Linked DNA regions of Homo sapiens: regions 2, 3, 4, 5, 6 and 7 are each linked to region 1. The links are contacts of gene promoters, found by promoter capture Hi-C in blood cells and fetal thymus (Javierre and others, 2016). All regions are on one chromosome and are shown on one strand. The core of a region is centred on a gene start or on the middle of the fragment in contact, and the rest is flanking DNA. Distances in the headings are between cores, read along the strand shown.

Evidence for each region. Contacts are between HindIII fragments. The CHiCAGO score rates a contact against its expected background, and 5 or more counts as called.
Region 2: a contact is called between a fragment that was not itself captured here and the fragment with the promoter of SNHG5 in region 1, in 3 of 17 cell types (monocytes, neutrophils and total CD4 T cells). The highest score is 15.7, in monocytes.
Region 3: a fragment that was not itself captured here is called in contact with the fragment with the promoter of SNHG5 in region 1 in 1 of 17 cell types (activated CD4 T cells); the score reaches 5.6 in activated CD4 T cells.
Region 4: a contact is called between a fragment that was not itself captured here and the fragment with the promoter of SNHG5 in region 1, in 2 of 17 cell types (neutrophils and monocytes). The highest score is 14.8, in neutrophils.
Region 5: the fragment with the promoter of PHIP here is called in contact with the fragment with the promoter of SNHG5 in region 1 in 8 of 17 cell types (total B cells, activated CD4 T cells, neutrophils and 5 more); the score reaches 12.5 in total B cells.
Region 6: a fragment that was not itself captured here is called in contact with the fragment with the promoter of SNHG5 in region 1 in 1 of 17 cell types (monocytes); the score reaches 6.9 in monocytes.
Region 7: a contact is called between the fragment with the promoter of TTK here and the fragment with the promoter of SNHG5 in region 1, in 3 of 17 cell types (total CD4 T cells, fetal thymus and total B cells). The highest score is 10.0, in total CD4 T cells.

What each region holds. Positions count from the first base shown.
Region 1 is chr6:85,676,767-85,681,008 of GRCh38, forward strand. SNHG5 (small nucleolar RNA host gene 5) reads right to left here and starts at 1,967. Exons shown (of 6, transcript NR_003038.2): 1 at 1,928-1,967; 2 at 1,370-1,422; 3 at 1,188-1,266; 4 at 1,029-1,109; 5 at 658-726; 6 at 241-425. It overlaps SNORD50B (small nucleolar RNA, C/D box 50B), which reads right to left and starts at 893; the gene lies at 823-893. SNORD50A (small nucleolar RNA, C/D box 50A) reads right to left here and starts at 602; the gene lies at 528-602. RefSeq lists enhancers at 1,548-1,607, 1,778-1,937. The HindIII fragment of the contact is 13,479 bases long and covers 1,810-4,242 here.
Region 2 is chr6:79,023,401-79,027,642 of GRCh38, forward strand. PHIP (PHIP subunit of CUL4-Ring ligase complex) reads right to left here. Exons shown (of 40, transcript NM_017934.7): 8 at 2,543-2,764; 9 at 2,119-2,219. The region is part of intron 1 of LOC124901346 (a long non-coding RNA gene); the gene reads left to right. Among named protein-coding and RNA genes, the nearest start is that of PHIP, 53 kb to the right of the region's middle. The HindIII fragment of the contact is 2,814 bases long and covers 345-3,158 here.
Region 3 is chr6:79,040,630-79,044,871 of GRCh38, forward strand. It overlaps PHIP (PHIP subunit of CUL4-Ring ligase complex), which reads right to left. Exons shown (of 40, transcript NM_017934.7): 7 at 2,214-2,374. All of the region lies in intron 1 of LOC124901346 (a long non-coding RNA gene), which reads left to right. Among named protein-coding and RNA genes, the nearest start is that of PHIP, 36 kb to the right of the region's middle. The HindIII fragment of the contact is 888 bases long and covers 1,598-2,485 here.
Region 4 is chr6:79,057,650-79,061,891 of GRCh38, forward strand. PHIP (PHIP subunit of CUL4-Ring ligase complex) reads right to left here. Exons shown (of 40, transcript NM_017934.7): 5 at 3,019-3,169; 6 at 2,829-2,927. The region is part of intron 1 of LOC124901346 (a long non-coding RNA gene); the gene reads left to right. Among named protein-coding and RNA genes, the nearest start is that of PHIP, 18 kb to the right of the region's middle. The HindIII fragment of the contact is 5,266 bases long and covers 1-4,242 here.
Region 5 is chr6:79,076,405-79,080,646 of GRCh38, forward strand. PHIP (PHIP subunit of CUL4-Ring ligase complex) reads right to left here and starts at 1,850. Exons shown (of 40, transcript NM_017934.7): 1 at 1,625-1,850; 2 at 1,451-1,509; 3 at 1,296-1,325; 4 at 1,044-1,103. The coding sequence starts at 1,664. LOC124901346 (a long non-coding RNA gene) reads left to right here. Exons shown (of 2, transcript XR_007059652.1): 2 at 1-862. RefSeq lists silencers at 569-1,068, 1,568-1,737, 1,868-2,107 and an enhancer at 2,228-2,277. The HindIII fragment of the contact is 4,735 bases long and covers 1-2,775 here.
Region 6 is chr6:79,219,657-79,223,898 of GRCh38, forward strand. The region is part of intron 1 of HMGN3 (high mobility group nucleosomal binding domain 3); the gene reads right to left. Among named protein-coding and RNA genes, the nearest start is that of HMGN3-AS1, 12 kb to the right of the region's middle. The HindIII fragment of the contact is 7,289 bases long and covers 1-4,242 here.
Region 7 is chr6:80,002,658-80,006,899 of GRCh38, forward strand. TTK (TTK protein kinase) reads left to right here and starts at 1,992. Exons shown (of 22, transcript NM_003318.5): 1 at 1,992-2,056; 2 at 3,185-3,325. The coding sequence starts at 3,187. RefSeq lists enhancers at 1,029-1,903, 1,474-1,593. The HindIII fragment of the contact is 2,460 bases long and covers 835-3,294 here.

The DNA.
Region 1 (4,242 bases), core at 717-3,216:
AAACTGCTATTATTATTCTATTGTGCTCCTTATTTTCTGTATCTCATTCCCCCATTTCTCAACTTAAGCATCCAGGCTTTCAAAATTATAGTTACATCAAAACTAAATATTCCATGATTTGCTTAGTAACAATTACTTCTAATTCCTGTCTCTCCACTCTTACACTGATCCAAAAACCCTTACATTGTACCCTGCACAAACCCGAAACATTCACTCACAGTAATTTGATTACAAGGCTGGTTAGTGGATTTTCCATTTAATGCTCCCCATGTTATTTCAGGACCTATTTAAAAGTAATAACAAAAAGGAACATAATCCAAAATTACATGTTTTATTTTCATGTTTGTAAAACGAAGAGCTTTTTTCTGGATGGTTTTCTTATCAGCTTTTCACACAACAGTCAAGTAAACCTCGTGGCACTAGCCCTAGAAAAGGAAAAACACGAGATTCTTACAAGACTACAAACATTACAACATATGTAAAAGCATTAAAAGTATTAAAAAAAAATATTGTCCTTATAACGGTCCATCTCAGAAGCCAGATCCGTAAAAGTTTTTTTTTTTCAACAGAAGTTCAGGTTCGGGATAAGATCATCACAGATAAGACCAAGGACACAATATTCACTGATCTCTAAGCAAACAGAAAAACTCCACTTACAGAAATCGTTGCAACTTTGGAACTTCCAAGACAATCTGGCCTCTATCAATGGGCAGACAGCGACCCTCACTGTTGGCAGAAAAAAAAAAAACCCAGGATTTTATAACACAACTGTTATAAAATCACGGCAACAAAATTTACTCCACCTCTGAATTACTGGTCTTAATCTCAGAAGCCGAATCCGTACTTATTTTTCTTCAGGTTATCAGCTTCGGGATAGGTTTCATCATTGATTAGACCAATCAGACCTTGTATATGTACACATAATACATTAAACTGCACTTCTGTGACACTGACTACAAACCAAGGTAATGCTAAAAGGCAAGTATTATAGTACAAATACTACAGAACTTTTAAGCCATACAACCTACTTCAAAATGAAGCTGCTAGTCAGTCACATTCGACATTCATTATCTTCACTGGCTACTCGTCCACACTCAGAACGCTGTTCACTGACAAAAAAAATTTGATTTAGTCTAGGTGTGGATTAAATGCTATGCTCAATCATAAAGTACTAAAACAACACATACCTGTTAAAAGTGTCAGGTTTTAACCAAGCGATTTTCCATTAAATATTCTCCCAGATGTTCTGGAAGTTTTTTCGTGTATCTAACAAAAAAAAGTAAATTTCAAACGATGCAACAGTTCCTATTCCTGTAAATCAACAGGTTTACTCCTTTAGTTTGGAAACTAAGCTTAACTAAGCTCTTACCTTTGCATCTTCAGAGCTGCTCCACTGTGCCACTGAAGACAGCGCCATTGTTCCTGCGGGAAATCGGTATTTAAGCATTCTCGCAGAAATGTCACACTCCAAGGCGTTTTTCCACACAAAACCCTTCCCCTTCATTAATCCGAATTGCACACAACGCCGCCTTCGAACAGCTCAGTTTCAATACAGGGTCGAGGCTTCCCATTTTAAAACAACGCCGACGGAAGGCCTTCGCCATTTTAGTAAAGGCCCTTTGCTGTTAAAACTAACCCTCCGCCCCAATTAAGGTGGTTTTTCCGCCGCCGCTCAGGCACATGCCGGAGGCCAGCAAGTTCGGCGCCCGTGGCCGATCAGCGGTTCCTCACGCCAAAACTCGGAGCCTGTGGCCGTCACGACTCAACCTCAGTACATGTGGCAGTCCGGCCGCACGTTTCCCACGTGCAAGCTTTCAACTCTCAGCACTCTAAACTCTTCACTAAGATGTCTTCACAGGATTAAAGCTCTTAACTCGGCCTGCGCCACCATCTTTTGCTCGGATACTAGCCCGCAATACCCACTCACCTACCACCCGCCCAGACGCTCGCGAAGGCCGACGTAAAAGACCGAAGTGCGCAGCCAGTAGCTCCTTATATAGCCTCCCGGAGTCAGAACGAGGCCGTCCCGCCCTCTCGCACCTATTGGACATGGAAGTAGACAGGGGTGTGGTCGCGAATTAGCGGGAGCGCGCGCGGTGGCTCTTCTGAGGCCCGTTCCGCGTTGTGGAGCGCGCCGCAGGCCGGCCGCGCGCCCGGCCATTTCCCGGCGCGCGCCCGCAGGCGCACTGCGAAGCGTCTCTTACGAGTCTGGCGGCCGACTTGGCCCTACGTGGCGCGGGTGTGGCGCCAGAATTCAAACAGCTGCAGTTGGAAACGACGCTTTCGCCTGCCACGAGCCAAGTCCGTCCAGGACAGATTGGGTCCGAGAGTGGACACAAGTTTTGCAGCGCAGGGCGGCCTCAGCTTAGGACCGATTCGAGAAGCTGGGCTGGCTGGCTGGCTGGCGCTGGGCTGTAGTGGGCCCCCAGCGGAGGCCGCCGGAGGAGCGGGCGAGCCCTGGCCGCAGCACTCCGGGAAAGGGCAGTTGGCTGGCAGAAACGCTTGGGTGAAAAAGCGGAAAGCGCCACGTGAGAACAGCCCCGGCGTGCGGCCCTGCAGGGCCTCAGGGCGGGCATCAAGGCCCCATGGGGATCCATTCCTCCTCACGCTTCCTCGTGCCAGGCATCCGGTTACACTAAACGTGACCATACAAGTCTCCCTCAAACAGCGAACGTGAGGTTCAATACTCCATTTCGCAGAGGAGAAAACTGAGGCTTAAAACAGCCAGGTAATTTGCCTAAGGTCACACAGCTGAAATGCTTTGCTAATTTTTAACTTCTTTGTACTCAATTAGTTATATTGAAAACGAGAGAAAGATTAATTTGAGAAGTATCCCTGAATACTTTATCCAGACGACAAACACAAAATTCAAAAGCAGTGCTTTGATTAATTAGCATGTTCGAGTGAATATGTCTGCGTGTGTGTGTGTGCACACGACATTTGAACATTTCAGTATTTGAAAATTCAGGTCGTTCTTCACTTCTATATTTCAAAGCACTACTTATTAAAGTTGTTTATGTGTGCATTTGATTACGGTCCGATTCTGCTAGAGTGTGGGAGCAACACATCTGATTTCGTGCTCTGCTGTTTATTTTTTCTTAGAACAGTGCCTAGCATTAAGTAGGTTGTCGGTAATGGTTAAATGAATGAATGAATGAACAAATACATTCGGTGGCTTTTTAGAAAATTAGAATGAAGATCAAACTTCACATTCAAAGATAGTAGTGAAAAGCACTTTTCTCTAACAGGAACCTATATGATGAAGTATTGACTGGGCCGGGCATTTTGTCGGTTTTTGTATTACTTTGTAATGTCTTACATAAATTTGCATATTGCTCATAGTAAATAGTAAAACAAACAATACAGTACAAAAGGATATAAGAAGCAAAGTAGGCCGGGTGTGGTGGCTTATGTCTGTAATTAGAGCACTTTTGGAGGCTGAGGTGGGAGGATTGAGCCCAAGACCCTGTCTCTATTGTATTAAAAAAATTTTTAAAAAGAGTTAACAAAAAAAGCAAAGTGAAAGTATCTTTCCACATGCCTGGGAATCTTCTCCCTAGTTGTACTCTTCAGCAATACCACTGTTAACAGTTTTTGAGACTTCCTATGCAAATGCAAATATATGTACTTCGTTTTTCACATACAAATGGGATCTATATGTTCTGCAACTTGTTTGTCCGTCTTGTAAATATCATAAACATCTTTCCATATCAGTACATATAGATGACTTTTTTTTTCCAGACAAGGTCTCACTTTGTGACCCAGGCTGGAGTGCAGTGGCTCTATCTCTGTTCACTGCAATCTCGGGATCAAGTGATCCTTCTGCCTCAGCCCACCAACCATGTGGGACTACAAGCACGCGCCATCACGCCCTGTAATTTTTCTGTATTTTTCGTAGAGATAGAGTTTCTGCCATTCTGAAGACCACAAACATCACCTGGTCAAAAGCCATATAAAACAGTGATTCCTTACCCTGACTTACCAGTTAAAATCTGGTAAGTTAAAAAATATCAAATTTCTGGGCCCGAACCTGGAACCTTGAAAGCATAATGTTCAAAAGTGGGACCCAAAAATCCACATTTTAAACAAGCATTAGAGGCAATACTGTCCAATTGGAATATAATATGAACCACAAATGCAAGCTACACACGTAATTAAAAATGTACTAGTAGCCATATATATATATATATATATTTTTTTTTTTTTTTTTTTTTTTGAGAGTCTCACTCTGTCACCCAGGCT
Region 2 (4,242 bases), core at 502-3,001, 6.7 Mb before region 1:
GAGTACTCATTCTTATGCCTGAACTCTGAATTTAAAAATTTTAAGGGACAAGAATAGGAAAGAATATAGGAATAGGAAAGAATATTACTTATAAATACCTAGAAAAAACTTTGAAGTCCAAAAATAAAAAAATTACTAAGTTGTATATAACAACTCTATTGAACATAATGCAAGCTATTAAAATACATATAAATATCTATGGTAAAATATTAAGAAAACAAAATTATATATATATTCCTAATTATATCTATATAAAAACATTCATGGAGAAAAAATACTGTATTAGGGTAGTGGTTTATATGTGATTCTACATAAAGGTTCTGAAAAAATCATTTATATGGACAAGCTTACTTCTCAAGCATCCAGAAACATGAAATGTTATTGTACTTAGCAATAAAATCCTCAAGAAGCACAAATAAGGTGTGAGTTTAATTCTGTAAAACATTTTCTGTTCCTATCCCAATTTGAACATTGCTAATCACTTTTTCTTCTCTAAAACAATAAGACAGGAAAAGAGAAAGGTATCCCCATCAGGTCCATGAGGAGGTTAAAAAACAGTAGCAACAATTAACAATTAACTATTGCTACTGTCCATATACATCAGTAAAATATTTCAACTTTTATCTATCTACAGAAAGACTTTAAATACGAGGGATGCAACTGAAGTGAAGTCAACTTGCTTTGTCCAAAGAACCATGTTTTAAATCACAATCTTTTTTCAAATGAAGTAGTTTTGTTACTCGAGCTACCATGGCCCCCAAGCTGCCATAAGAACCACTCTACAAGAATGTTCATATACATGAAGTTAAAGAAGCATGTGTTGCATTACAAACAATTATCTAAACACTACTGTTTTTAAAATAACAAAGGCATACATATATTATTTTATTAAATAACTCAACTTGGGTTGCTAATTTATACATAGCAGTCAGAGATAATTACTGATATATACCTTCTAATCTGAATGACTTTCCACCCCGAGTGGCAGAAATGGCCATTTCAACACTGTGAAATCAACTGAATAATCAATTGAATACACTACTTTCTTGTTCAAAGACTATCCATGGAGCAAATACACTATTTCCTCTCCCCACTACATCCACTTAAAAGATATGGTATAGAGGCTGGGCACGGTGGCTCATGCCTGTAATCCCAACACTTTGGGAGGCCGAGGTGGGCGGATCACGAGGTCAGGAGATGGAGACCATCCTGGCTAACACGGTGAAACCCTGTCTCTACTAAAAATACAAAAAACTTATACGGGAGTGGTGGCGGGCGCCTGTAGTCCCAGCTACTCGGGAGGCTGAGGCAGGAGAATGGTGTGAACCCGGGAGGCAGAGCTTGCAGTGAGCTGAGATCGCGACACTGCAATCCAGCCTGGGCGACACAGTGAGACTCCGTCTCAAAAATAAATAAATAAATAAATAAATAAAAGATATGGTATAGAAAGCATCAAAGGGCAGAGAAGTGCTCTAGTCCTGGCCTTGCCAATTTTTAAACATAGTTTTAACTATGGGAAAGTCATTTAACCATTTCAGTGCCCTTAATCCAAAGATAATACTATCCAGCCAACTTGTTTTGATAAACCGAAGTATTAATATGGGCGACCGCACAAATGCAAAATGTTATTATGGGGAGGGAGGGGAATACATCTATCTACCTTGATGCAGTTTAGTGAAACTTCAATGATTCTGTCTCCCTACATTTTCCTAGATCTAAAATAAAATCTAAAGTTTATAGATTCAGTAGCATCAATAATTAAAATTATTCTAAAGAACAGCATTAGAAATTCTTAAGATTAAGTTCTGAGCATCAAAAGCAGCTATTAAAACTATGCAGCACATAGAAAGGAGTGGTAATAAAACAGGTAAATGCTGAAGGAAAGAGCTAGGATTAGGATAAAGAGAAAAAAAATGTGAACATGAGAAACTTTCTTTGAAACATAAAAAAAGGGGAGGAATAAAAATAAAACAGGTTAGTAAAGAGCCAAAAGAGGATTTCTATTATTTACTCAAGGAGAAAAAGTAAATGTATTCCTATTGTCGACTACTTTATACTTTTGCAATTTCACTCATTAAACTAAACACATTTAATCTATGAAATAAAATAGAAACTGACTTTATTTTAAGGGTTCCAGCATCCCAGAGCCAAAAACAAATAGTGCCATCTGCCCCAGTAGAAGATAGATATCTCTTTGAGCCACTGCACAATGGTGAGAACTGAAAAGACAATCACAGAAAAAAAATCTTTACAAGAGTGACACAGTCAAAATAAAATCTACTTTTTGCCATACAAATAGCAACTAACAACAACAGTTAGAAAATGGCAAGAATTTACCAAGGTTATGTTATTTAAAGTCCATATATTTATAAAGAAAGCAGACATACTCCTGTCTTCATTTTAGTTGGCCTTATATACTGGATTATAAAGGTGATTATAAAAGTAACTTCTTAAAATTTAATAACCAAAAGTGACTTCATTAAATTTACTTTACATTATAACAACAACAACAACAACAATGTATAGGGATTAAGACAATTACCTGTAGTGATGTAATAGATGCACTATGGCCCTGAAGAACAGCCAAAGGTGCACAGGTTCGAAGACACCAGACTCGGATCATTTTATCACAACTTCCAGCTGCTATCATGGTATTCTCATAGTTTACAGCCATGTCTGATATTTCAGCAGCATGTCCTCTTAAGGTAGCTAACAACCTCCCATCATCTGTTGCCCATATTTTCACAAGACAGTCATCAGAACCCTTAAAGTAAGAATGGATATTAATAGAATTAACCCCATAAATTTTAATTCAAAATCTTAACACTGATAAATCTACCTGTTCTGTCCACTTCTGAACAAGTATATTTTTAAATACCAAAAAGTGTTAAATACTTGTGTTAGCTTACACAAAGCTCTTTATTAAACCACTTAAAAAGAGCACTTGTGTACTCACCAGCAAATAAGACAAGTGGGATAAGATAATTAATATTTACCTTTGGTTCCCTATCTACTATCAAAGTACCCTCAATGTGGATTTCTGTAAAAGAAATTGAACTTCTGAAATAAAAAAAAAAAAATCATAGCTGCAAAACAAATGCAAGCTACAATGGTGACTAATATTATCTATTTTGTTTTGTAATACAAAACTAAAAGTAAGCTTGTTTGGGGCTTTTTCTCTCAGGAAGCTGTGAGTTTCCTATCACTGATCTTCAGCTAAAAACATGACATTATCTAAAGCCAGTTATCAGAAAAAAATTAATCTCATCTGTATGAAGTCAATAAAAATACATAATTACTTGTTTACTCTGCCATAGTAGTGTAAGTCCAGAAAGAAATTGTAAAGGATATGGAGTTTCCTATGAATATCTATATTTACAAATGAACATTCCCATTTTATATAGCCAAAATAGAGATAGAACATTCAGACTCTATTTTTATTTTTTATTATAATAATTTTAAATATATAAGAAAGTAGAAAGAATAGTATCGTTAATCCCCATATATCTACTTCCCAGATTCAAAACTTAATATTTTTGCCACATTTTCTAGTCTTTAACACAAGGTTAAAAGAGAAAACACACACTTTTGCAAAATTACTGAATATTTTACAGGATACAGTTTTACTAAGGGTTCATGTTAGAATGCTTAACGACCTTCCAATCTAATTCTTAAAGAAACACCTTCATATCTGACATTAGAAAGAACTCAGAGGACCTATGGAGGCATATAATTCAGACAACTTTCTGCATCATAGTGACAATAAATATAACATATAAATCATCATACTGACAATAAATATAACATATTAATGTTTCCAAACAGAGTATGTTAAATGCTGTATCTTAAATCAGACTCTGCCAATGATACCTAAAACACCCCCCAATTAACGATAAAACCAGTTCCTCTGATTAAGCTTTGGAGTAAAATAAATGGGTTACTAACCACTATAAAGACCAGTAAAACTTAACTTTGGTCAACTATCCATATTGTTGTCTAGTATTCTTATCACATACCCTTAACCTCACCTCAGGCTCTTCATCTATAAAATACGGAGGTTAAAATGGATGGCCTTTAAAGTTCCCTAAACCTTTAAAATTAAGCGATTCATGCATTCATTTATCCCTTTGTCTTGTGACTATGTGACAACCACTAAAGATATAAGAATGAGATATAAAGACACAGTATTCTTGTCCTTGTGAAGCAAGACAGAAGAATGTAAATGTGATAACGTCCTATGTA
Region 3 (4,242 bases), core at 792-3,291, 6.6 Mb before region 1:
AGTGAAATGCAAAAAACACTCAGCACCCACTTTATTAATGAGCAATATGAATAGTGAACATATGTGTACCCTACCACCACTTGAAGTGAAAATAATAAAAATACAAGAATTTTTCAAAAAAATAGTGCCCTCATATCTTCGTTATTTCTTATTGTAAGGTAACATTCTGAAATCTGTAACTCCAAACCACCAGTAAAAAATTACAAATGAGACTGAATTTAGCAAAACAAATTCTATCACATTCTTAAAAAATAAACATCTTTAGACTTTGGTAAGACCATATAAAATAGTACAGTGCTACTTTTCTTCTCTTAATTGATGTGCTTTCAACTAAAGAAATAACCAACAAGCAGCTTCCTCTTCGCATATTATTCTTGTTCTCTAAATCACATGCCCTTAAAAGAAAGAATCAAATGTCTAGAAAAGGATAGCAATTTTTTTCTGTACAGAGCTGGATAAATATTTTAGGCTTTGCAGGCCATATGTTCTCAGTCAAAACTACTCAACTCTGCTGTTGTAGTGCACAGGCAACCATAGACAATATATAAACAACTGAACATGCCTGTGTTTCAATAAAATTGCATTTATAAGAACAAGTGACAAACTGGGTTTGAGACGCAGGCAGCAGCATGCTGAACCCTGGTTCAAAAAGCTCTTCCAAGTCTGTACCTACCACACTCATGAGATAGCAAAAAGCACACTATTTCACTGCATTCTCCCTAAAAAAATTCCAGGAGATTATATGTCTAATTAATATCAAAACATGTAAAATGCTTCATAAAATATGATAAACAAATGCTTACAATCCCTATCATTTTTAAAGAAAGAATTCCTACAAGGTTCTTTACAATGGCATAACTTTATACTGACCTACTGGCACAATATAGTGCTCCTTTTTCATTATTTTAATTTATTACTGTTTTTGAAAGAATTCTTTCAAACATTAGAAAAATCAAATTTACTTAAGGTTTTTGAGAGGTGAATTTGAATATACCCATATTAAACTTGAATGGCTAAATTAATTTTCGATTACTATTTGAGAGCAAATTACTACTGTAGGTATGTCAGGCACTTCAGCAAATATAGAGATGCCTATTTTCCACTCTGAAAATAATACTTGATACAAGAGAACGTAAAAAGGGAAAATACTGATATAAGAAGTGATGTGCAAATGCCTGAGGTAGATTAGAGCCAAGGGAAAAGAAAAGTATAAAAATGCATTCCTACATCCTGCTATTTAGCTGTTTTACAGATGACTGGGTGTATGGATAGAGGAGAAGTAGTAGGTATAAATAGGTCTCAGTTTACAAGCAAATTTACTAAAAAGAGGAATCTATAATTGTCATAACTACGTAAAATTCACAGCTGCTCTCTTCAAAGACAGGAAAATTTCCATTTAACTTCCACTTCAAATTTTCTTATTTCAAAAGAAATTAAAAACCTTGTGAATGAATGCATACCTTCAGCCCACAGGGTAGTGTTTAATAATAAATATCATCATAATAGTGTAGTATTATGCTTAATGAATGTAGATGTTAAGGCACCTGAAAATCAAATATTTCCAAAAGTAATTTTCTCACTTAAAATAAAGCTCAAAAGCTTTGCTTTTCTCTATTCAACAGGTTACAAGAAACAATAACAAATAAACAAACCCAAAGAGGCTCTATAAACAAAACATCAGATATTTTGAAGAATGAACTGTTAAGAATAACAGGTAATAAGAGTATTAGATATGCTCAGAATTTTTTAGCTTTTTTAAAATCACTATTTTAAGGGAAATTTCTCATAGACAAGCAAGTGATTTTCTACAGATAATATAAAAAGGTATATTCAATAATCTCATACAATTATAAAAAGGCACATTTAATAATCTCTCAACATACTTAGATGTCCTTAGTTCAAAATTAAAATTATTTTATGCCATTTTGCAAAATGTCAAACTGTGTATTTGATATATGTTGAGAACCATACTTATTCATGATGTACAACCATATAATAACTGTGACTGTGCTGCAACATGTCATTTAGAAACTTTCTGAATTTGGATAAAGTCCAAATTTAACTAAACTCTTCTGTTAGAGTAAGTGAAACCACCTGAATTTCCGGTTTCCTATTAAAAGAAAAAAAAGCAAGGTTTTACTTCAAGTTCACCTATAAGCAATATTTCCTCAATTACATATATGAATATAAATAATACTTTAGCAATTACTTACAGTAAATATCCGTCTGCCAGTTCGATCAAAAGTTACACAGTACACAGATGACAAGTGTCCAAGAATTCGTTTATGCATTTTCATGTGCTGATACACTGCAGTTGGAACAAGTCGCTCAAGTCTGTATTTCCCATTCAGCTTCCTTGAAAACAGAGTATCCGCTACCAAGAAAAAGAAGGAAAATAAATGTAATCTGGAAATTAATTTTCTTACATGATCACCTTTTAAGAATTCACATACTCCAATTTGTCATGTGCAGGTAAAAATAAAGAAGCTTTCTGATATATATGGCTTCTAGTTAAAAGTCTTTAAAGTAATGAATAAAAACATTGTTTCACCTGAAATAAGTCAGGCACTATCATTCTCACTTTATAACTTAATTTGTAAGTTAAATGACCTGTCCAAAAATCACAAAGTAAGGCATGAAGCTAGGATTAAAGCTCAGATTTATTTACTCTCTGGCTAGTGCTCTTTAAAAACCTAAAGCATTTATATGTTATTTCCTTAAAAGCTGTCTATGAAATAGTTTTTCTTACAAAGGCACTTAAAACTGGAACCCAGTGTACTTTTCATAAATCAGTAACACTTGAACACTCGAAATCTGACATGCAGAATGATATTTAAAAACATCTTTATAACAAGTGAAGATAAAGGAATACGTCATTTGCATTATTAAAAAATAATAATTAAACTGGGAATCTTGCCAAACACCTGTATAATGATTCCTTCTCTGGAATCTATTAGCTCTCCCTTAGTTCTCCCTTTCAACTCATTCATTCTAATCATTATTCAAGATCTGACTGAAGTTTATCTTCTGTCCCAAAGCTTGATACATTGACTCCAGCTGAAAATGTCCTCTTCCATCTAAATTACTACTGTACTTATTTTCTATACTGGTAACTTATGGACAAAGAAGGTGCTCAATAAATATATGTTGACTGATCTGCAGGCACATTATTAACCTACAGATGATCTTCTAATACAGGCTTTTTTTTTTTTTTCTAACAGTGACTGCCATCTACATTGGGTAATTAGCACTAGGGTTTCTCGGTCGAATTTAGCCCTAAAGAAAACTAAATATATATACAAAATACTACTTAGCCAAGGTACAGAGCCCAGTAATTATGCCCTAAAGTTGATAAAACATAAATATATTGGTTGTATTATGAAGAATCTCAGTATTGCTTATATTATTCACATCCAATAAATGTTTGGCTCACACTATATTTCCAACCACTCCACACTCCCGCTGCCCCCACCCCAAACCCCCAAAAAATCTTTGGGCCTGGTGAGGAGATATATAGCCTTTACAGGTTCCTAAGCAGTAATATTTCAAAGAATAATTACACTATGCTTATATGTTCTTTCATCACAGCAATAATTTTATATTCTGATACAGTATTTCTCTTGCTGTTAGCATGTAAGTTCTATGCAACAATCTACCCCAACACTTGGGAATTTCTAAAACAAGGTTTGACAGTTGTCAATTAGCATATTTAGGCTTAAGTTGGTTATATACCAATTTAACAGAGACTCAATAAGTTTCAATCATAGCTTAGACCCCAGACACATTTTCTTCACGCCCAGGAATGGCCTGGTAAAAGACATCCTCCAATGCTTTGGCTCCAAACTTATTTAATGCAAGAATCACACAAAAACCATAGACATCAATTTTCCTGCCAAATGAGAATTAAAATCATCTTATCCAAACACCAAGGATCACTCACATCTCAGACTCAGCTGTCTGTTGTAAGAAAATAAGTGATGACATGCCACAAAAACATTGATAGTATTACCAAGGTGTACTTTAATTCCCTCTATCCAAAATTTCCAAAATGTCGAATTTTAGGAAACTAACAGTGTTCAGGTGTGAAAATATCATTGTTGGAAATAATATATCAAGACCCATTTCTCGATGATTAAGCATTAGTATATAGGTAAGAATTTTTAAGATAAATTTGTTATAAAGACCATCTAAAAATCGGAGATGATAAAGTATTTTATAAGCAAAAACTACTTCTCTTAAAAG
Region 4 (4,242 bases), core at 934-3,433, 6.6 Mb before region 1:
TTGGTAATACCACACTGACCAAGGAAAGAGCAAAGAAAACTTTTAAAGGTAGCCAGACAGAAAATGGCAAAGACTCAACAAAAGAAGAAATAAGTCAGTACTACAAACATTCATATATATTTTTTTCAATCTTCTGAACCATACTGTAACAGCTTGAAATAATGCATTGTACCACTATGCAGGCAACTATTCTGGCAAGAAGACTGATGAATTATTTCTCCCCAACACCATCCTGTTCATTACTTTATAGCGATAATAAAACAAAATATATACCATGGTGAACTCTAGCAAAACACAGACACTAACCTATGACTATGCAAGTTGAGTCATTTTGGTCAGTCTAGCTTCTCTGCAGTGCTTTCAAAAAATATATGTAAATACAATTTTTAAAAGTAGGCAAAATGGGCAATCCACTACAGGTGTTTCTTAAAATAAAGCAAAGATTTTCCTGAAAATCACAATGGAAGAGAGAGAGAAAAAAATTATCTTAAACTCTAAAAATAAAATAGTCTTTCAGAAAGGTACATCAATCACCTGCTTGGCAATTAATTCTGTTACCTAAATGAATCAATTACATTTCTATGCTTGGATGCAAAACCCAAGGTATTTTTGCCATACGTATATATAGGGTTCTGTACCATCTGTTGTCTCCGACATCCACTACGGATCTCAGAATGTATCTCCTGTGAATAAGGGAAGATAAATGTTCCTCTCTCCTTGTCAGCAGTATTTACTAATCTGACCATCAACGACGTGGCCTAAAATATTATATTTGATTTTATAAATATTTGGTTCCCTTTTACAAAAAATGACTAACACCAATTTTCTTGAGTAGCCAAGTGTTATTATTAATAAATTCAGTTTACTGGGAATAAAGCATAGCATAATGGAGTCAAACAGTCTGGGTTGAATCCTGGCTTCACTTCTCACTGCATGTGTGAACTTGGTCAAGTTACCAAAATCTTTCCATGCTTCAGTCTCCTCTGTAAAATAAGCATAATAGTTCCTACCTATAGAACATTTAAGGTTTTAAAAGAGTAAATAAATAGAAAATGCTTAGAACAGTGTCTGGCATACAGGAATTACTCACAAAGCAAATGTTATTTACCATCAATCATTCTTACACTTTCATTACCTACCACAGGCCTGACTGACAATGTACTGAAAGAACAAGCATAACGTGTTCTCCTTATTATGTGGATCTATAGTTTTTCAAAGACAGGATAAACTTTTCCTAAATGGGAAAACTCCTATAATATTTTATCTTTCCCTTCTTGCAGGAATCCTATTATACCACCTTAGAATACTTTTCTAAGTACAAATATACCCTCGTCTCTCAAATTTTTTTGTTGTTTTAATGGTTGTTTATTATAGCAAGATTATATATTGAAATTATTTAAACAGGACAATCTTATGTTTTAAAAAAAATCATAGATGATTACCCACCACGCAGATATCACATACGTTATCTCTGAAAAGTAAGTCAGAGCAAACAATTCAGAATACATCAGAGAGTCAAAAACATGTAAAACATAGAAGAAAGGATAACGAAGCAGATAAAGTGTTTAAGTCCCATAGGAAAGGAGAGAGAAAGGAACACAGAGGTTATTTTAAGATAATGACTGAGAATTTTTCAATGTCAATAAAAGACATTTCCAGAATCTAAGCAAGACAAATTTTTAAAAAATTAACATCAAGACATATCATACTCAAACTGCAGAAAACCAGAAAGAGAAAAAATCTTAAAAACAATTAGAGAAAAAGGGATTGCCTTCAAAGTAGCAAGTTAGATAGTAGATTTAAACCCAAGTACATCAATGATTATATGTAAATGACTAAATGTTCCAGATAAAACACAGATTATCATATTGTATTTTTAAAAGCCACTTTTATATTTTTAAAAGACAAGAAATAAAAGGAAACAAAAAGTTGAAAGCAAAATTATATATATATATATATATATATATATATATATAAAAATGCCAAACAAAAGTCATATAAACTTACGATCTGTATAATAAGTATCCAGAAAAGGAAGAATTAAGTAAGATTTGAACAGGTGGAAGAAAGAAGAGTAACATTCCTGGCTAGGCAGGAACATGAGAGTGGAAAAGAAGCTATGATTGAACTTTGAAGGTCTCTGAAAATTAGGAGTACACTTAGAGAAAGTACAACACTATTAAAATATCTTAACCTCTTTATACTATCTTCAGCAGAAGAGTGACACAACAAAGGTAGAACTGAATAAGGTTACTATTACAGTGTTACACACTATACTGGGAGGGAGAGAGAGATAGAAGACACCATAGGCAAGAAGATTAGTTTGGATGATGCTGTATTAATCCGGGTAAGGCAAGGGCCTGGTAGTAGCAGATGTGAAAGGCATGAACCTAGGAGGCATCTCAAGAAGACATACTTGCATCAGTACTCCCTCTTTGAAACTTTAGCCAAAAAAAGAAAAAAAAAAAAAAGTACTGTGCTCTTAAAAAGATAACTACTTTTGTCTCCTACCATTATAACTAATCTGAATTATATATTGATTCTACTAACTCGACCTAATAATATATACCTTAATATGGAACTTTCGTAAAAATAAAATTCCAATGAGCTAATTGGCCTACATAAGGTGCAATGTGCACAATCCCTCATTATACATGACTTTTTCACTATTAAAACTACTACTAAGAAAAAAAATCTATTTTTTTCTTTTTGAATGCAGATGTACATAATATGAAGTTCTCTAATACCACAGTAACTAAAAAACCTTTTCATTTTCAAAAGCTCTTTACCAAGAGGCTATTAACTACTAGTGAACTCAAACAACTCACCAATGCTGGGTGGGCTACCATAGTTAACTGGTGACTCAGGTGGTCTTCCACAGTGCAACGCAGCCAGAGCAGATCCTTTCCACACAACATGCTTGCAGCCTATTAAACACATGTATTTTTATGCATACAAAGAACACAAAAACAAAAGTGAGATAAATAATGTCTAAATCCTATGAGAAAATTTTCATACTTTTATTTGTGCGTAGTAAAGACTGTCTTCCAGCTCCTAATAAAGTTTGTACTCCAGGAACACTTTGAGGAATTTCTTGTTCAAGAAGAGGTCCTAGTCGATGACATATTTGCAGCAAGTGATCAGGTGCTAAGTGTCTGTAATACTTCACCTATTATGTAAAAGACAAATATAGTAGGTTTCAGTTTATCATTTTAATTTTCAAAATCTTTGAGCAACAATAAAAAAATTCATCCAAGTATAAAATATTTTGTTTTGCGTCTTTGATGTAAAGTAAATCTCCAGAATAATTAAGAATTAAGAACTGATAGTTTGTTATTAAAAAATTTAAGAACACTTAACATCTATGCTGAATTTCATAATTTACCAAAAACCTTACAGAGAGAAAGGCAAAATTCCAACTGCTGCTTTAAATATCTTTCAATCATAAAATAAAGCTACCCACTATAAAAAGTTTGAGCACTTTTGGAACAACTTCAAAATACTGCTTAATTTATACCGGCATTTGAAACCATGACATGAAATGCTAATATTTTTATTAGTCTTTCAGTAAATAAACAATATTCACTATCTAAATAAAATTATATTGGAAAAAAATACTATTGTATTACTTCATAATTAGCTATCAAGTTAGAAAAAAATTTCCACAGTAGTATCTAGTTCAGCTATTCTCAAAGTATGTTTTGGGAACCCCTGGAGGTCCCTCAGATAAAACTTATGAATAACACTATATTAGTTGTTTTTCACTTTTTCTCATGAATGCACGGTGGAGGTTTCCACAGGACACATAACATGTGATGTCTTAACAGACTGAATGCAGAAGCAGATAGGAAAATGTCTCCTCTATTAAGCCAGATATTAAAGATTCACAGAAATGTAAAACAATGCCACGCTTCTCACAAATTTGTTTTGTTTGGGAATAATTATTATAAAAATGTTACTTATATTAAAATAAGATTAGTTTATTAGTATTATTTAATAGGTCTCCAATATGTTAAATGCTAAGTTTCTAATATGGTAAATACCAATAGATTATAAGCTACACAAATAAAGGAACTTCAATACATTTTAGTAAGTGTAAAGGGGTCCTAAGACCAAGAAATTTGAAAATTGTTCCTCAAGTTTACCAAGTAATGGCAACTTTAACATGAATTCCTTTTGATAAGACTGATGTGGGGGGAGGTGAGGATTTAAATCATCTCATTCCATCTTGCAATATCTGCT
Region 5 (4,242 bases), core at 600-3,099, 6.6 Mb before region 1:
TCCGGTGCGACTGCTTTAACTGCCCCACACACATATTCACACAACGAACCTGTATCAGTTTAGGAGAAAGTGTTACAGAAAATATAGCTCCTTTAAAGTAACTTCCAATCACAATACTGAAGTGATAAATCCACTTCTGAAAAGCAATTTTTAAAGATTCCTAAAATACTCATTTTGACAACCCACAAAATTAAGGTTTTTAAGCTATTAAACAAAATATGTCCCAATATAAACACAACTTTCATAGGCCAAGTTCCATCCCACAGTAAATATGTGGACAAAAATCAAAACTCTTCAGTGTACTCCAATAATAATTTTTAATTAAACGAGAGGCATACCATAAGAATTAAAAAAAGCCTACTAAACTTCTGGTTTTAGGGAATTACAGGCTTTACACTTCTGCAAAGATGTGTTTTAGTAAATGCAAGACGAAGCACTGACCAACTATCATCACACATCAGAATCCTTCCAACAAAAAACCCAGGACTGAATTTAAGGAAAACAAAATAAACGACAGAGGGGGAAAAAATAATGTCTTGCCACGGTACCGCAGCGGCTGGATAGCCTGCTTGTGAAATGCTAATGCCACTTCGGAGCAGTTAGTCACCAGCTATTGTGTAGGGCAGGAGAAAGCCGAGCCGGCCGCGCGTGCAGAGCGAGCAAGCGAACGAGCGAGCGCGCTCTCCCTCTTCGCGCCGCTCCCGCCGCCGCCGACTCTCGCGCGCCCCCGCGCCCGCACGGACGCGCGCGCCGGCCCCTCCTCCTCCGGCCTTGCACTGCACAACACTCATGACGTATCTTTATTTCTAGCACATTAACAAAATATCACAAATAAATTGTCCGCAGCCCCTGCGGCCCCGAAGTACGAGTACCCCCGGCCACTGGCCCCCGCAGACCCCGCGCCGGCCTCCCAACCCTCCCCATGGCCTTTGGAGCTTTCACGTTCTAGGGCCAAGTTTTTGTCTCTGTAAAAAATTGCGGGAAATTCAATTTTTATTCGACTCAGGGAAAAGTTTCTTTGCTCTGCGACGTGAATGTCTCACCAGATTCTGGTAGGTCCTGGGATGCTCCTTCCCGGTCCAGTCGGTGCGCCGGGGCAGCAGCTGCGGGGAGAGGACACCCCGTGAGCCCGGCCCCCGGCCCCTACCCGCCCGCTCCCCTCCCCCGCCCGCCCCGCGCCCCGGCGGGGACCCCGAGCCCCGCGCCCCGCGCCCTGCCGGCGGCGGCAGCGGCGGCGCAGCGGCCCAGAGGCGGCCGCGCGGCGGCGGGACGCGCCGGGCCGCCGCCGCCCTTACCTCCTTCTCGGCCACCTCGCGGATCAGCACCTGCAACAACAAAGCGGGGAGAGCTGAGCCCCGCGCCCCGGGCCGCGGCCCCGCCGCCGCCGCCTCCCTCCCCCACGCCCGCGAGCGGCGAGCGCCGGCCCGGCCCGCGCCGCGCGCCGCCGTACCTGAGCCGCCTGCTGACAGGGTCCATCTTCCAGGAACCGGGCGATGAGGAAGTAGAGCTCTGCGCGGGAGAGAGGGACGGGGAGACACACAGGCTGAGCGGTCGGGCGGCGGGGGGCGGGGGACCGCGGGCGGAATCGCCCGGTGCCAGCGGCCCCGGCAGCCCCCCGACTTACCCGATCGCAGCTCCGAGAGGCCTTTCCTCTCACAAGACATGTTTATGGGTCACTTCAGGGCCGCCGACGGGACACCCCGCCGCCGAGGGGAAGCGGGGACGGTGCCGCCGCCTGCCCTATAGCTGTCAGTGTGTGTTCACGAGCCGAGCTTCGGCTCCACCATTCAAGCAACGGCGGCGGAGGCGGAGGAGGAGGAGGAGGAAACAACAACTCTCAGGCAGCGACTACGGCCGTGGCCGCCTCCGCCGCGGATCCCTCCGCCGCAGAAAGGAGTCCGCCGCCTTCGCGGCCCAGGGCTCGGCCCCGGCTCTGGCCCGCGCCCCCGCCCCCCGGCGCTAAAAAAGGAGTGCCTCCGACCCCTCGTCCCCAGCGCTCCGCACGCGGCACAGTGAGACCCCCACCCGCTCCTCCCCGCAGGGCGTGCGATTTATTTATTTATTTCCAGTCGGAGAAGATGTCGGAGCCCAAGCCGCCGGTTGGCTGGAAGGCGCTTTCTCTGTGGAGGCCGATAGTGGCAGGGAGGGGGCCGGGGACGGTTCCGCGGAGGGATCTGACGCACACGGAGCCGCAGCACAGGCTCTATTCAGCGGCGCTGGCTGGAGCTGAGATGGAAGTTAGTTTCTATGTAGCAGAAATATGAAACAAATGAAGCAAAACTGCCCAGAGAGGGGAAATGCCCCAAGGATGGGTCTCACTCACGCGCGTACACAGACACACACGCAGAGAGCACTCTCACGCTGGGCAAGCTCGGGATCGCGCTACCCTTCCCGAGTTGAATGATAGTGTTTGGTTTCTGTCTCTTGCCATGTGCATGTGTATAAATGCTGCGGATTGGCATCTGTGTAAGTCTTGTCCTGCGTTATTTCTGCAGCCTATGCAAGTGTTGTGTAATTTATTGGAGTGCTGTATATTGCAATAGAGGTTTGGGCTGCTTTTTGTTAAGCACTTGCGTTTTGCAAACCCGTTATTTGCTGAAGCCACCTCTGCATATTTCTTTTATTACTGCCATTGCCTTTGGCGTACGTTTTTTAAATGTTTTTTATTGTTAAACGGGCAAAGCGAACTCTTGATTTGTACTTCAGATACTCTTTTTCCTTATTACAAAAAGGCTAGTGATGGCTAATTAGGTATTTGGAATTAAAGAACCTTAAAGCTTTTTTAAGTGTTTACGAGAAGGGAGAATGTAAACCTGAGGGAAAGGAAAGGACGCTAATATTCATGTCTAACTGATCTGGAGGTAATTTAGTGACAGATCGATAACCTGCCTAAGGATATTGAAAGAGTATACTACAGTTTAGCCAAGGTGAATAGTGATTAAATAATTTAAATAATCTGTGTATCTTGCAGTTGACTTCGTCATGCTAATTAATGGCTTCTAATTTGAGATGTAAACCATTCCTGTTTACAGTTAATCACGGGAAGACTTCTTGAAAACTGACGAAAAGGAGAAAAAAAAATCTTTCGTAAATTAGTATGTAATTACCGATTTTATATGCTAAATCATACATCTGTGTTTTGCTGATGAGGATAAGGGCCTTGTTTTTAAAAAAACGAATATGGGTGAAATTAATGGAAACAATAGAAAAAGCCATTTGTTAGAAAACAAGGACACCAAATGATATTTATCTCCAGATGATTTAAGCACTTTCCAAAAAGACTTGAGAGTTCAATATTTTTTAAGGATTGCATTTTAAAGGGAATTTGGATAGTCGTTCTTTTGTTAACATTTAACAAAAGATTCTCCTTAAAAATGTTAGATAATAAACTGCATTTTATGGGTCTGGTTTAAAAAGGTTATTTGTGGGGAAAGGACCAACAAGCTGTATTGTGGTTTTCTAGATTGTTTCCTCAAGCCTTGTAACCTCCTAGCTCCTTACATTCCTAGTGGGAAATACTTGCTGCAAATGCCTTGGGCTGCACTGTAAGCCCAAGTGTGCTGCACCAGTGTGATGCCCTATACTAAAACATCCAGAAATCATCATACATATGAGGAAGAAGAAATAAAGCCTCAAACCCTTTGGAATAATAGGATATAAAATTGCCTTTTGTAACTGAATCTTAAAAATGGAAGGTTACCATGACTTGTCCTATTGCAACCTGGTTATCAGAATAACTTATTTTTTTTAAGATAGCTATTCTCAAATACTGAACATATTTGCATCTTTAAAGACACTTTATTCTATTCAATTATAGGTAAAGTAGCCTATTTCTAGGTGGTTAGGCTTGAAAAGATAGACTGAAAAGATAGGAAATTTTGTATGCCTTTTTGCAAATTGTATTTACTTCTAAGACCGATGCTGTTTTAGCTTAACTTTTAAAAAAGTGTTCTTCAAATAATTGTAATATTTTACACGATCTTGAAGTTCTTCAAATAAACAGAGTTTAGAAACTAAAAATTATAGTGGGATTTTCTGGTTTTGAAGGCTTGGAATGTATGATTCTTACTAATAGATGTTTTATTCTTGTGATTGAAAATAAACCAAATTATGACATGGAATATAATATTACTCTGGGTAAAGTTTGTGATATATATCTTCTGTGTGTTTTGTAAACATAGAAAACTAGCATGATTATCTCATATATTCTTTTCATTTAGAAGCCACAAAAGCTTTCACCTA
Region 6 (4,242 bases), core at 526-3,025, 6.5 Mb before region 1:
TAAAAAAGCATAAAAACAGGTAAAACTAATTTTAATATTTTATTTAACTGACTATATCTAAAACTTTATTATTTCACCCTGTAATTAATGCAAAAAAAGATTAATGAGATATTTCACAGACTTTTTTGTACTAAATCTTTAAAATCTGGTGTTCGTTTTATACTTAGAACACATTTTTATTCAAATGCTAAATTTTTATCAGGAACATCTAATCTGTATTTAGAATTCATAAAACTTACAGTAGTTTTACCCAGGTTGCTCCAAACATTTATAATTTACCAATCGCTGATTCTAATATCAGTTTTTAAACTTAAGTTGATTAAAATTAAATAACAAATTCAGCTCCTCATTCTTAAGTGTTTAATAAACTCATGCAGCTAATGGCTACCATATAGCACAGCTTTAGACAAAAACAATCATGAAAGATAGAAGTGGGGTCGGTAGATAAGAAGTTAAAGGATACTATGGTCCTGGTTTTGTTCTGGAGGATGATACAGATACAGATTAATTTTAGACTTTGTTAAAATAAAATTTAAAGTTACCATTAAAAAATGTAAGAACAGAAATAGGATCTATAAACTTCCAAATCAGGAGGGGTGGAATAAAACATATTTACCAATAAAAAGCAGGAAAGTAAAAAACAAAGGAAAACAAAGAATAGAAAACATAAAAAGTCCAAATAAATCAGCAATCACAATATACCTAGACATAGTATACCCTTCCATTATAATGACAAGTGACAGAGGGAAGAAACAGAGTAATACATGTACAGGACTACACTTCTACAAATTGCCTTTTTTGTTTTTTTGAGACGAAGTCTCACTCTGTCACCCAGGCTGGAGTGCAATGGCGCGATCTCGGCTCACTTCAACCTCCACCTCCTGGGTTCAAGCGATTCTCCTGCCTCAGCCTCCAGAGTAGCTGGGATTACAGGTGCGTGCCACCACACCTGGCTAATTTTTGTATTTTTAGTAGAGATGGGGTTTCATCATGTTGGTCAGGCTGGTCTCAAACTCCTGACCTCAGGTGATCCACCCACTTTGGCCTCCCAAAGTGTTGAGATTACAGGTGTGAGCCACCACGCCCCACCACTTATACAAATTTTAGAACATGCACAAATCAATATTATGGATGGATGGATGGATGTGTCATAAAGGTATAAAAGCAAGAACTGGAAGAATACACAACAAATTCGTGATGATGGTTATCTTTAGGGGGGATGATAAGGAAAAAGGAACCAAGGGGATGTTTCAAAGGAAACTGAACTTTAATAATTTATTTTCTAAAAAGGCCTGAAATGAACAATGATTTTTAAAAGACTCCAATTTGTGAATTCTCAGTGGTGGGTAAATAGGTATATTATATTATTTCCTGGATTTCTCTGTATTTATGTTTTTTTCTAAATAAAAATATTATCCATACTGGGGAGAAGAAAAAGACTAAAAGCAAACCTACTCTATTAAAAACAGTACCATATCTACTCCCTAATACAAATTACATAACTAGGTTTACTCACAGCATTTTTTCTATTTCTTCAATATCGTATCAATCTGGTTTATATTGCCTCCTCTTCTGTACAAGACATGTAATATAACTGCTTCATTTGTACTGATAATGAAGGCACTGGACTCAGAACTCTTGAAGGAGTGTGGGAGTCGAGATGGGCAGAGGGAGTGTGGATTCCTTCAACAGCTGACCAACTGTGCCATCCCCATTCTTTCTTTACACAAAGATGCCTGGGTCCTGCATGTGCAGAACACTCAAATGTACTGAAGGGATCAGAACTGTATTTTCCTTAAGTCTTTCCAGCAGTCCCTATCAGAAACCAAGGGAAGAAACTTGGAATTTTTATTCCATAGGCCATCCATGAAGAATCAACAAGGTTTGCTGACCTTCTTTCATGTAAACAGTGCTTACCACAACATAAACAGGCACTGTGGGGTGATGAGCCCAATTTTCTCCCTCCAAACTCAAGAAGGTATCAGAAGAGTGTAAGAAAATCCTTACACCCTTTCAACAGCTGCTTAGGAACGGCTTTAGATGGCAGCAGTCTGTGGCTTTGTTAGTGTGGAGAAGGACACTGAGGGAGAGGCAGGAGGCAGAGAAGTTTAACGCTACTGCACTAGGAGTGATCTTCAGCCCATGGAAGACAAGAAAGAGGAGGGCTCAGGATTTTCAGCACAGTGTTGGACCTTTCTTATGTTAAACTTCCAAAAAACCTTCATTGGTACATGTAGTACCAATTCATTGGTACATGTATTGGTACATGTATTGGTACATGTAGTACAAATTCATTGGTACACATAGGCTCTTAGTTACTTAGAGTTTTACTTCTAAGAGTTTAAGTGACAAAGGCTATTGTTTTACGACTTCAGCGAATTAGCTGAAGGCCTACAGTAATTATGAAACTCAAATAACCATTTGCCAGCAGCCCCAGAATAAATCCAATCTCAACTCCTAGGTTATCCATGCTAACGAGGAAAAGCTGATGGTATATATAACAGTGCAAAGAGACCAACAATCATTTCTTTTAACCTAGGGAGTGTATTACATTGAGATAATCTTTTTCTAATTTGCTGGCCAATGTTTTAAAATTATTACTTTTATTGTTTTTTTTCAGTTACAAACTCAAGGCTGGGGAAAAAAGCAGTCCAGTATTAAATTGGTTAAAAAGAAAACCACTATGGCACCAAAAAATTCAAATAACACACCACGAGAAGGTCTGAAATGTGCCTATACCTAACTCTGTCGCTCTTCAGCTAAAATGAACACATAACTACTTAACACAAGGTTAATTCTCTCCACAAATGAGGGCACTGTCCATGAAATTCTTATAAGGTTTCTTGAGTTAAAAGGTAGTCTCCTTAAATTCAAATACTTCTATGACACATTAAACAGACACTGGAAGTTTTACTCAAAGCCACCAAGCGATGTTTAACAATGGCTTGGTTGTTTTTCATTGATCCTGTAGGTGTATGTCTGGGATCCTCTATTACTACATTGCTTTTAAAGTAATCTTTAAATATCCAATACTTGGAATTGAGAGGTCCCTTCATGGGATTAATAATCAAACTTACGTTAAATTTATTTTCCATATCCTCCCCTGCTTGGCTTATCAATTCCAACAGGTGACTTCTATAAACTCAAATTACATTGATTAAGGTCACTGCAGGCTACTATGTCTTTTGTAAATGTTATTTTATTGTTCAAGATAAAAGTAGTAATTAAGAACGCTTCTTTAGAAGACTTTGAACTGAAATAAATAGCAACTCTCTCTTTTCTGAGGACCACTTTGCAGGGAAAATATTTCTCTTGCAATCAGATATAAAAGATAACTAAAAATAAAGAAAGTTGTGTGCCAGTATGTTCAGTGAAACTTTATTAGTGTAAATACACACAATTCAATAATTAGGGTTTATATTTAATATTAAGGAAATATAGGCCAGGCACAGTGGCTCACATCTGTAATCGCAGCACTTTGGGAGGCTGAGGAGGGCAGATCACTTGAGGCCAGGAGTTCGAGACCAGCCTGGCCAACATGGCAAAATCCGTCTCTACTAAAAATACACACAAGGCTAGGTACAGTGGCTCAGGCCTATAATCTTAGCACTTTGGGAGGTCGAGGCAGGCGGATCATGAGGTCGGGAGATGGAGATCATCCTGGCTGACACGGTGAAACCCCATCTCTACTAAATATACAAAAAATTAGCTGGGCCGGGTGGCATATGCCTGTAGTCCTAGCTACTCAGGAGACTGAGGCAGGAGAATTGCTTGAACCTGGGAGGCAGAGGTTGCAGTGAGCCGAGATCGCGCCACTGCATTCCAGCCTGGGTGACAGAGCGAGACTCTATCTCAACAAACAAACAAACACACACACAAACAAACACCCACAAAAAACAATTAGCTGGGCATGGTGGCACATGCCTGTAATCCCAGATACTTGGGAGGCTGAAGTGTGGGAATCGCTTGACCCTGGGAGGTGGAGGCTGCACTGCACTCTAGCCTGTCTTGTCTCAAAAAAAGAAAGAAGTTTAAATATTTTAAACCTCTTTGGTCTGAGCTGTCCCTTTCACTAGAGTTACCTTTTTTTTTTTTTATGTGCTGTGGTTTTGTACAAACATGGCCATGCAGAAAGCACGTGGCTCAATCAGAAGCCTGAATTCCAGTCTGGCTCACACCTGACTTCTCTAGACTTGAGTTTCTTCACCAGTAAAACTAGTTAAGATGGACCTTAAGATCTCA
Region 7 (4,242 bases), core at 742-3,241, 5.7 Mb before region 1:
CTTCCAATAAATTCATGACTAATGCAAGTTTAGAAAAAAGAAAGCAAAAAAAATTACTTTAAATAGTTTAAAAATAATCCCATTAGATATCAGTTTTCAAATTTAAATATAAATTTAATTAATCAATTAAGGTTAATTGATTTAAAAATTCAGTTCCCAGTTGCACTAGACATACTCAAGTGCTCAATAGTCACAGACCATCACAAGGACTTTTGATTTTATTCCGAGCTAGAAAGGGAGCACTGAAGGGTTTTGAGCAAAGTAGTGACATAATCTGATTTAAGATGACTTTGCTATGTCAGAGAATAAATTGAGGTGAGGCAAGGGCAGAAGCAGGGAGACCAGCCAGGAGGCTACTGCAGGTAACATCAGTTAAGTGATGCAGATGCCTTGGACTGAAGTGGTGGCAGTGGAGGTGGGGAGAACTGGTAGGAGTCCAGGAATCTCTTGTGCCAGCCCTGACTCAATCTGCTTATGAGTTAGATAAGGGATCAGGGATGACACAAAGGTTTTGGGGCTAAAAAATTTAAGACAATGAATTTGTCTTTTATAGATTTTGTAAAAAAAACAGGTTTGGGTAGGAAGATCAGGGGCTTGGTTTTGGACATTTTGAGTTCAAGATGCGTATGAGACATGTAAGTGAAGATGTTAATAAGTAGGCAGTGGATATCTGAGTATGGAGTTGAGGAGAGCTCAGCTAATGATACACATTTGGGAGCCATCAACATATAGATGGTATTTAAAAATAGAAGACTGAAGGAGACCACCAAACGAGAGTACAGAAAGAAGTGTTAGGGTGAGGTCATCCAGCAACAGTATTTTAAGGAAAATGCAAGCTTTGTGATCAGGCCGCAAACAGATCAACGAGAATTGGAGGAATAATAAACTCTTTCCAGGCAGAAGCATTAGATGCAATGGTGCAAAGGTAAGTGATTAGCCAACCATGGTATAGCAAGTCATTTTGCTCTGCTGAAGCAGAAATACTAGCTAGCTGACACAGAAAGATGCATTAAGTGATTGAGAAGGGCTCTCACGCTAGCTGGGTGGCTATCCAGAGCTGGGAATGTGAGGGTTCTAAGGATAGCTTTGGAGTTAACAAGTGACAGCTGCAGTTAGTTTCCTATACATACACAAAACCAACCCGTCCTACCACAGAATATATGTCATAATGCTGGCACAACAGACACATCCCTTTTAGTTTTGCAGACGAGGAGTAACCGTTGCCCTGGACCACAAAGCCACTTAGCGGCAGAGCCTCGCACCCGCGAAGATTATTACTAGGGAGATGTTTTTACCCCTGAGGACACCTGAGCCCTTAAGTGGGGCAGGCTTCGAGGGAGGGGGGCCGATAAGGCGACTTCAGACAGGGCAATCACGATGGGCGCTTGAGTTCTGCGCAGAATTTTGACAAGGGGGAGGGTCTTGGCTTGAAGACAGAGCGTGGAGTCATTTAAGGATAATGGAAGGGCATAAGCAGAAGCTCAAGGATAAAAAGCACTGAAATTCTTGAGCTGGCGGCAGGGCTGAACGTAGCTCAGTGAAAGATCCTTTCTTGCCACATCCTCTCTAAGCCAGGCTGTGAGAACCGCGGGAAACGAAGGAGAAGGGTGGCGGTGGGGTCAGTAAAGGGCCGGCCCAAGGTGCATCTTTTAGGTCCTGATGCTAGGAGCAGCCGTCCCTGCCCCTATATTCCTCTCACTGGGTAGGTTTGCTCGGGAGTGGCTACCTCCCAGGCAAAAATTCGGCCTGGTTAAACTGGAAAGACCAGGAAAGCCCGCCCACGGGCGTCCGGGGAACGCCTGCAAAGTGCCAGCACCCTACCAACCCAGGCGCCGCACGGGTGGGGTCGCGGCCGCAGGCTCTTCCGGGGCGGGCCTAGCCTGACGCAGGAGGAGGGGCGGCCCCCGTCGCACAAGAACCAATCACGACTGTCGCTTCTACGTGGCTAGCATTGACCAATAGGAGACCGTAGTGATAGCGACGGGGAAATTCAAACGTGTTTGCGGAAAGGAGTTTGGGTTCCATCTTTTCATTTCCCCAGCGCAGCTTTCTGTAGGTAAGTTCTGTCTTACCGGTGCACCGGCGCACTGAGGAACAGCCGCAGCCGGTGTAGGGGCTCATTGTTAGCGCTGGTCGGTGAGGGGTGGGGCGAGGTGGGGGCAGCTCGGAGCCAGGTATGCGACGCGGCTAAACGAGCTGGAGGGGGAGGGGATGTCTCACTGCCTCAGCGGGTCTGGCCGGTGGGGTGATGCAGGAGGTTTTGTTGAGGAAGTAAGAAGTGGGTGTGGCCCACGCTGGAAAGAAGGGGTGGTGGGGTACCTGCGCACAAGATCGTTTTCCAAAGGACAGTCTCTCTTGTTTTGGGGGTTAGAACTGGGAAAGAAGCGGGTGGCCGTGATCTGACAGTTATCTTTCAAACCTGACTTAAGAGGTGGAGTGATACCTTGCTGCAACTTTATGACTTTTTTTCATTGTTAAACCTGAAGACGGGGCAGCATTGTTATCAGTGACACTGAGTTGGTGTTTGAGAGTCACAAAGATACGATTAACAATAAGACTGCAGACACTTTATTGAACAAACACCACCACCATGCAGATAAGCAAGTGCTCAGTACCAGTACAATAGTTTCTTAGTGTTAGATTAAGGTAGCAAATCGTGATTCTGCTAGATATGCACAAGAATAAATCTGCGGATTTCCTAATTATCAGTAAAGCCCCATCATGTTTATATTCTGCTTTGAAAGCACTTGCACTGGAAGATTTACTCAAGTAAAGCAGGCGAATAAAGGAATTGTTATTCCCATTGCCAAACGAATTCTTTATGTCTATGTCACTACCAGAATCCAAGCAATCTTTATGTGTATGTCGCTACCAAAATCCAAGCAAACACTCTATCATATTTTTTTTAAGTGACACTAAATTTGCAGATTTCTACAGTGTGACGTCATTGATGTTATATTGGGGGAAAAAGTATACTTGGCCTATGAAACCTTGGTGAATAAATTACAAAGATGTGTACCTTGTTGTTGTGCACTTACCTCCATTAATACTAGCCTAATAATAGCTGCATTTAGATGTGTTCACAAAACGAATGCTTTAGTCGTCTGGGTTCTAAAAAGCTAGTGCATTTTTTTCTTTGATGCTAGTTAAAGTAGGAGTTATGACTGTTCAGTTTTTTTCTTAGAAATGGAATCCGAGGATTTAAGTGGCAGAGAATTGACAATTGATTCCATAATGAACAAAGTGAGAGACATTAAAAATAAGTTTAAAAATGAAGACCTTACTGATGAACTAAGCTTGAATAAAATTTCTGCTGATACTACAGGTGAGTTTTTCTTTTCTTTTAAGTTAGTAACTGTTTGTTGGGTATCCTCTAAGGTAAAGATATAGTACTAATCACTTTATTTATAATTTACTCATGTGTTTATTGTCTTTCTCCTCCATTAGAATGCAGGCTACATGATGGCAGGGTTTTTGTCTGTTATATCCACAGAACTTTGAATGGTGTCTGGCACATGGTAGGTAGGCACTTAAACATTTATTGAACAATGATTAATGGGTGAAAATGCCCAGAGTTTAATACTCTAGCTCTTCTAAAAGTATTAGCTCAGAAGCCTGATTCTTTACTGTATTTCAAATGGTTGGTCATTTGAATGGTGACCTTTGGATAATTTTCTTACATCTATACTAACCTTTAAATAGATGAGGAATTGAAAATAAATGGAAGAACCTGTGATCTAATCATGGTGGCTGACTGTTCACTTTGAAAAAACCTAGAAAATGATAGTTTTAGTGTTAAGCAAAATCTTAATGGAGTATAATTGTGCTTAATTATGTCACTAACAAAGGTTGTACATCAAGGCAATTGAGTATTTTAAGTACTGAGGAAGATTCAAAGATGCTTAAAACCATAGTTTCTTTCTAGATGAGAATTTATATATTCACTATGCTACATTGTAATGCATGCTGGGCATCATAGGAATACTAGCATGATAAAACACAAATGTTTTATTTGTTGATTAGAGGAAGAATAGGGTACTCAGGCATGAGGAATGCATCTGCAAAGCCACAGATGGCAATGTGTGTTTTTTAGACATTTCACAGACTAATTTCTTAGGAAAGCAATAGGAGGTAAAAATAGAAAATTAAGGTCAGACCAAATTAAATTTAAAACGACAAAGCAAAGTTATGCATGCACTATATTTTAGTAGAAAGTAGAAACAAATTTTATTTATAAAAGTA